Linked DNA regions of Homo sapiens: region 1 is linked to region 2. The links are contacts of gene promoters, found by promoter capture Hi-C in human tissues and cell types (Jung and others, 2019). All regions are on one chromosome and are shown on one strand. The core of a region is centred on a gene start or on the middle of the fragment in contact, and the rest is flanking DNA. Distances in the headings are between cores, read along the strand shown.

Region 1 (3,501 bases), core at 726-3,225, 430 kb after region 2:
TACTTTAAGCTCTAGGGTACATGTGCAGAACGTCCAGGTTTGTTACATAGGTATACAAGTGTCATGGTGGTTGGCTGCACCCATCAACCCATTGTCTACATTAAGTATTTCTCCTAATGCTATTCCTTCCCTTGCCCTCCACCCCCGACAGGCCCCAGTGTGTGATGTTCCCCTCCCTGTGTCCATGTGTTCTCATTGTTCAACTCCCACTTATAAGTGAGAGCATGCAGTGTTTGGTTTTCTGTTCTTGTGTTAGTTTGCTGAGAATGATGGTTTACATCTATAATACAGATGACCAGATATATACAGATTTAATTTAATGTAAAGGAAAATAAAACTTAGCCACCCTACAAATACAAATTGCAAAGTAAATACATTTCTACCACATTAGGACAATAATCCTCTCTATTTCATTACTGACCACAGGATGCCACGATAATGAACATCTCAATATATTTAGAAAACTTGTGGAAACCTCAAGATTCAGCAACCAGATGAATGTAAGAAGAAATATAGTAAATTCCCTCCGGAGCACTTGATTCCTGGTTGCCTTCCAAGTTCAATGGCAAGCTACTAACTTGTTAAGGAGCCCTCTGCTCCCTGGTTCACCATGCTCTTAAGTGTCATTTTTCTATCAACCATATGAGAAAGTGGAGTGTTTTCTGTATTATCTCCTGAGTCATACTATTTCTACAGTCCTATGTCATTCAGGTTTTTCTGGTTGTTATTCCTGTACTTCATTTTCCTGAAGCTTGTCTCCCCTTCATTAGAGTGGATGTTTGAGAGGCCACGCTTAAGTGGCTTGCATTTAGAAGCATGGGAAAATACTTCAAGCATTTAATTTAGACAATTACATATGTATACCAGGAGGATGAAATTCACATGAGAGAAGCAAGAAATTTTTGTTCTGCTGCCTTGCCACAGATAAGGAATCATCCTTCTTCTTTTTGGGGGAGGGAGTTGACTTTAAAAAATAATTATAGCATTGTGGAGAACTGACATGGGCCATAGAGTACTTCTTTAAAAGAGACAGTGAAACAGACAAAATAGAAAGACAACACAATACTATAGGAACGTGAGACATCAGTTCTTCTTTCTCCACTCCAAAAATAAATTTATAGAGAACAAATATATTCTTTAACTTTGCCAGAATATACAATTTCCAAAATATACTAGCAAAATTAATTCTGCTTAGATACATCTGGAAATGCCATTATTTGGGACCTTTGGAGTATATATAATGTACTGAAGTAGAAATTTACTATTTGCCAAGGAATTAGAGAGTATTCCAACAAAGTATCTTAAATAAGAATCTGAATTGTTCAATTCTTGGCCCTGGGAACCTGGGAACATAAAGTTTCCAAATGAAGCAATGACAGAACACACCAGCTGGAGACACCCTGTCATGAAGGATGGATTGATGGTGCCAGAAGATTCATGACCACGTACTTTCTGTTTTATTCTTACTTAAGTTTTTAAAGGGCATTTTAGTGTCCTTTATGTTGCTATTGGTATCCTTCATGAGTACAATTTATGCACCCTGTCATCTATGCCACCCTTGGATTTTTTTGGAGGCGTCCATATAAACTGGATGATTAGTTTCTTCCATCATCTCTATCATCACCTCAAATTTTAAATATGAAAGAACCTCTGCACTGTACCTATTGTTCTTATACTGACATTGAAAGATGGTTGTCTTCAAGTTAGAATCAAGTAAATGATGCCAAGCCAAGTTTTAGTTCTTCCTTTTAGAAATCTGAAGCCAATAACATAGGGGGGAAAGTCATCAGCCACATAGGGGAGAAGAGAGAACACGGAAGATTAGACATGCATGGCAGGCTGAAAAAGAATTTCTTGAGTAATGATTTACTGGGATGCAATAGCCTGAAACTTCATGAAAATGCAAGATGAATTTCTCCTTCACTACTTTCTTCTAAAATTATTTAGTAGTATACATTTTTCTCACAAGTTTTTCATATTACAAAAATGATCACTCCTAAATATGTAAATAGCCAAGTTTATTCATGAAAGACTCTTTTAAAAGCTTATTCACCCTGAACACAGTAACTACAGCTACCATCACCCAACCTCAGTTTCTTGACCCCATATAGCCCATGATCACCTCCCCGGCCTCCTCTCTTTCTTCTCGCTGTTTTCATCATGTGCTTTGGTCATAATGAAGTCATTTCACCTCCTCCATTATATTAAATTTATTGTCAGATCCAACCCACCTTTGCTTTTACTCTTCCCTGTGTCTGCATTGCTTTCTCTTTCCCTTTCTTCCCTGCTCAGGTGTCCATCAATCTTGCAGCTTTTCTGCAGCTTTACAAATCTTTCTCTGATCCCCATATCGGATTTATGTTTTCTCTTGAGGTACTCCCATAAGTGCCTGAATTCATTCCCACCTTAGTGAATCTCAATTTACTTTGTAATTTTTGTGTTTATTTCCTTTCCTTTCACCCCAGATATTAAACTCACTTCATTAGAGAAATGTGCAAACACAGAACAGTTTCTTCATTTGATTTTATGCTGCCTGAAATGTTTTCCCAAATGTTAAAAATACTTTAATCATTTCTTTTAAATTAATATACAAAATACTTGATATTTTCTATGAGCCTCTACATAACCAGACACTGCCTACCTCTTCCATGTCACCTCCTTCAACTCTGTCTTTACTCCTGCATCTCAGCCATACTGGCCTTCTTACAGTGTTTCCAAGAGTTCAGGCTGCTTTCTACCTGAGGGAAGCTTCTTGCCACCTTTATCACATTGTCTCCCCTACACTGTCTATTCTACACCTCTCTATTCCACATGGAAAAACTCGGCATGGATATGCCACATTAATACACAGTGCTGTTCAGGCCCAGATCCTCTTGACACCTTCACAGTGCAGCACAAATTTCATGTGTAGCACATATCACTGCCGTGGCTCAATTATTATTTAGGCAATTGCCTTTTTAATGTCCATCTTCCCAACTAGACTAAAAGCTCCATGAGGCAGTATCTATGTCTGTCTTGCTCAAGGAATAATTGTTACGAATCTATCTGGTCCAGTTTATGGCATGTGTGGGAACAGTGACTAATTGAATATAGGGCTAGAACATGATGCAAAATAAAGATGTTGGGCCAGAAGATAAAAGACCTTGATTGCCATAACAAAGAATTTATATTTTATCCTAGAGACAATGAAGATCCATCAAATGTTTATAAGCTGAGATAATCAAATCTGTGTTTTAAAGAATAACTCTGGCAGCAAATTATATGGCTGACATGGTGGACTGGGAGCCAAGAGGCTACTGTAGTAGATTATAAAAAATGGCCACACATTTATTTTGTCCCCATGTGTACATCCCCTTTGCAGGGTGACTTGGCCACTCTTGTTACTCCAAGTCTTTGAATTTCAACTTGATCGTGTGCCTTCCTTTGGTCAATGGCACATTAGCAACTCTTATGTAAGCAGAAGTGTGAAAACCGTTTGCACATTGGGGTTTGCCTGGTACT
Region 2 (3,465 bases), core at 966-3,465:
CTTCCTTTCTGAAAGCCTGATACAGAAAATTTTATTTCAATTTTTGTAAATTCTCAGCTGAGTTTCTTTTTTAAAAAATTTAGATTTAGAAGTTTGCAGCATTGATTACAGCTTGAAACTGATGAAGATATTTGGGACACTGTATTTGGTCTCCATTGGGTCAATGCTTTTTCATTTATTCTTCCTGTTAAGAAATATAAGTAATCAGGAAGATGTGAAAAGAGAAATAATTGAAAAAGACTGGAGTACATATACTATCTACAGTGTCTGTTTTAAAGAAACAACATTCTAGCACACCTTTCTACCCTTGACTAAGATTACTGTAATGAGAGCACCAGTACCCCTGAGTAACCGAAAGGGCATTTTGGAAACTGAGCTTTTGGTGTTTATATGAACATTCTGTCTTCCAGGACCTGCCTTGATTTATTCAAGACTCATACTGCTGTATATGGTGTTGTATACATTAGGGGTAGTTGGGTAGCAGTAACTGATATAGAAAATTTTAAATGTAAAAAACACTGGGGAGTGAACCTTTCCATTATATATATATATATATATATATATATATATATATATATAAATATATAAATATATATATAAATTCACATCAGGATGAGTTTCTGTTTAGGCAATGTTGGAAAACGCTATTTCCATTTTTTTTTTAAACAAATATTTAACAAACATTTATAAGGCACTTAAATCCATGCTGGCTCTTACAAATGTTGACTCATTTCTCATAACCACCTTGGGGTAGAAACGGAGAGGCTAAACAATCTGCAGGCGATGCTTCACTACTAAATGCAGGTGGCAGCCTTGCCTGTGTTCTCTGCTTGGCTAGGAACACAGGTCTTACCTATTGAGCTGGGCTGTGTAGAACTCTGTTGTGGAGACATCTGCCCCTGGGGCAGAAGCCTCTGCTTTTTCCCCCTCCTCCCATCTTACTCCATGTCTCAGAGAGCTCTGAATCCCACTTGGAGAATCACACTTAAACCCTCTAAAAACCTAATGATGAATAAAAATAAGTTCTCTAGAACTTCTGGAGAAAAAAGTAATAAAGCTACCAGGTTAAATGACTGAAATTCCTGAGAGAAAACAACATGTGTGTGTTTCTCTAGAAAGGGGGCCCAATACTGAATACCAGGAAGTCCTATAGTAAATGGAATGTGACTCTATGTGGGATCCGGCGTTCCTATTTCATCCGAATGCATGTCTGCTGCTTCAGTGGGAAGGGTGCTTGCACACCAGGTACCCACTCCCTGGTGTCATGTGCTATGCAGTCCAAAGACAGAACCAGGAATGGTGAGCCCATGAGCCTGCTGGACCCAGCCCCTCCGAGGTCCGGAGTGACAACCAGTGCCGTATTTCTAGATCAAACCTGAACCCCTCCTACAGGGAAAAGATTTCCAGGGGATTTTGAAAGTTCCAACATTTTACAGGGAAGAAGGAAGATAAGCAGGATATGAAAGAAGAGTTCATGTTATACAGCCCTGGCTTCCACTGACGCTAACACTGGATTCAGCTTTTGACACTGATAATCTGTTGCCACCAAATGGAAAACGTAAACAAGATATTCTAAGTGTGGTTAGAGAATATGCAACACAAGGAACAAGCAGAACATTCTTCTCTGGAATCTGACATAATGGACTGTACTTTCACAGACAGCACTGATGTTAGATGTACGTGAAATAGGCTAAACTGAAAATAAGAAAGGCTGAGGCAGAGAGGATAATATAGCTCCAGCCTATCTCCCAGCACCTTGTTAATTTCTCTCAATCTCCAGCCACAAATCCGAGACACAACGCTCTTCCTCCAAAGAGGTCGCGCCTTCTCTGTGGTGGTTCTCAGGGATCCGCCCCAGCTCCTTCTCCGTTCCCAGCCCCACACACTGGGATCACCAGGCACCCAAGATCCCACCTCTCAGGTGGTATCTTCAGCGCAGGCTGCCACTCAGCCCCCCTCCAGGGATCTGGGGCAGAAGGCGAATATCCCAGAGTCTCAGAGTCCACAGGAGTTACTCTGAAGGGCGAGGCGCGGGCTGCATCAGTGGACCCCCACACCCCACCCGCACCCCAAGCGCTCCACCCTGGGGGCGGGGCCGTCGCCTTCCTTCCGGACTCGGGATCGATCTGGAACTCCGGGAATTTCCCTGGCCCGGGGGCTCCGGGCTTTCCAGCCCCAACCATGCATAAAAGGGGTTCGCGGATCTCGGAGAGCCACAGAGCCCGGGCCGCAGGCACCTCCTCGCCAGCTCTTCCGCTCCTCTCACAGCCGCCAGACCCGCCTGCTGAGCCCCATGGCCCGCGCTGCTCTCTCCGCCGCCCCCAGCAATCCCCGGCTCCTGCGAGTGGCACTGCTGCTCCTGCTCCTGGTAGCCGCTGGCCGGCGCGCAGCAGGTGGGTACCGGCGCCCTGGGGTCCCCGGGCCGGACGCGGCTGGGGTAGGCACCCAGCGCCGACAGCCTCGCTCAGTCAGTGAGTCTCTTCTTCCCTAGGAGCGTCCGTGGCCACTGAACTGCGCTGCCAGTGCTTGCAGACCCTGCAGGGAATTCACCCCAAGAACATCCAAAGTGTGAACGTGAAGTCCCCCGGACCCCACTGCGCCCAAACCGAAGTCATGTAAGTCCCGCCCCGCGCTGCCTCTGCCACCGCCGGGGTCCCAGACCCTCCTGCTGCCCCAACCCTGTCCCCAGCCCGACCTCCTGCCTCACGAGATTCCCTTCCCTCTGCAGAGCCACACTCAAGAATGGGCGGAAAGCTTGCCTCAATCCTGCATCCCCCATAGTTAAGAAAATCATCGAAAAGATGCTGAACAGGTGAGTTATGGTTTCCATGTACACAGGCGACTGGAGCCGTTGGTCAGAAATACTGGCATGTGCCCCCTAAAAATAAAATCAGGAAAACCCAGGGGTTAGTTGAAGGACTAGAAATTGGGATTATTGTTTTCACAATTAAGGTTTCCTTTACGATAATTACTGCTCTGGTGCCAGAGGATATTCCCAATGCCTGGCGTCCCCACCCTGGTTCTTCCTTCGTTCCAATGAATGTAGGTAAAACTGCCTTCATTTGAGGCCCAGTAGGACAAACAGCAACAGGTTCTGGCTGTTTTTAATCCAATAGTACAGTGGAGACCACCGCCCCACCCCACCCCCATTCCTAAAAGAGCATCCCAAGCTTAGAGGTCCCTGCCACACAGCACAGCTGTCATAGGCAGTAGCCACTTGGTTGCCAGGCTGGGGAAACTGCATTCGGAAAACTCTAGAGGCTGGAGGAGCAGGGCAGGAGAAGAGTGTTGTGCAATCAGCTTTCCCGAGCACCTACTCAGGGCACCCATTTTCTCATTGCAGTGACAAATCCAACTGACCAGAAGGGAGGAGGAAGCTCACTGGTGGCTGTTCCTGAAGGAGGCCCTGCCCTTATAGGAACAGAAGAGGAAAGAGAGACACAGCTGCAGAGGCCACCTGGATTG

What was found. The method cuts DNA at HindIII sites, captures the fragments that hold promoters and counts their contacts. A contact is called where the count stands out against the background at its distance.
Region 1: a fragment that was not itself captured here is called in contact with the fragment with the promoter of CXCL1 in region 2 in 1 of the 25 tissues and cell types used here (mesendoderm cells).

The regions. Positions count from the first base shown.
Region 1 is chr4:74,293,063-74,296,563 of GRCh38, forward strand. The region is part of intron 7 of MTHFD2L (methylenetetrahydrofolate dehydrogenase (NADP+ dependent) 2 like); the gene reads left to right. All of the region lies in intron 2 of LOC105377276 (a long non-coding RNA gene), which reads right to left. Among named protein-coding and RNA genes, the nearest start is that of EPGN, 14 kb to the right of the region's middle. The HindIII fragment of the contact is 3,752 bases long and covers 100-3,501 here.
Region 2 is chr4:73,867,178-73,870,642 of GRCh38, forward strand. It overlaps CXCL1 (C-X-C motif chemokine ligand 1), which reads left to right and starts at 2,216. Exons shown (of 4, transcript NM_001511.4): 1 at 2,216-2,393; 2 at 2,492-2,615; 3 at 2,729-2,812; 4 at 3,344-3,465. The coding sequence starts at 2,294. The coding sequence ends at 3,359. The HindIII fragment of the contact is 6,457 bases long and covers 1-2,962 here.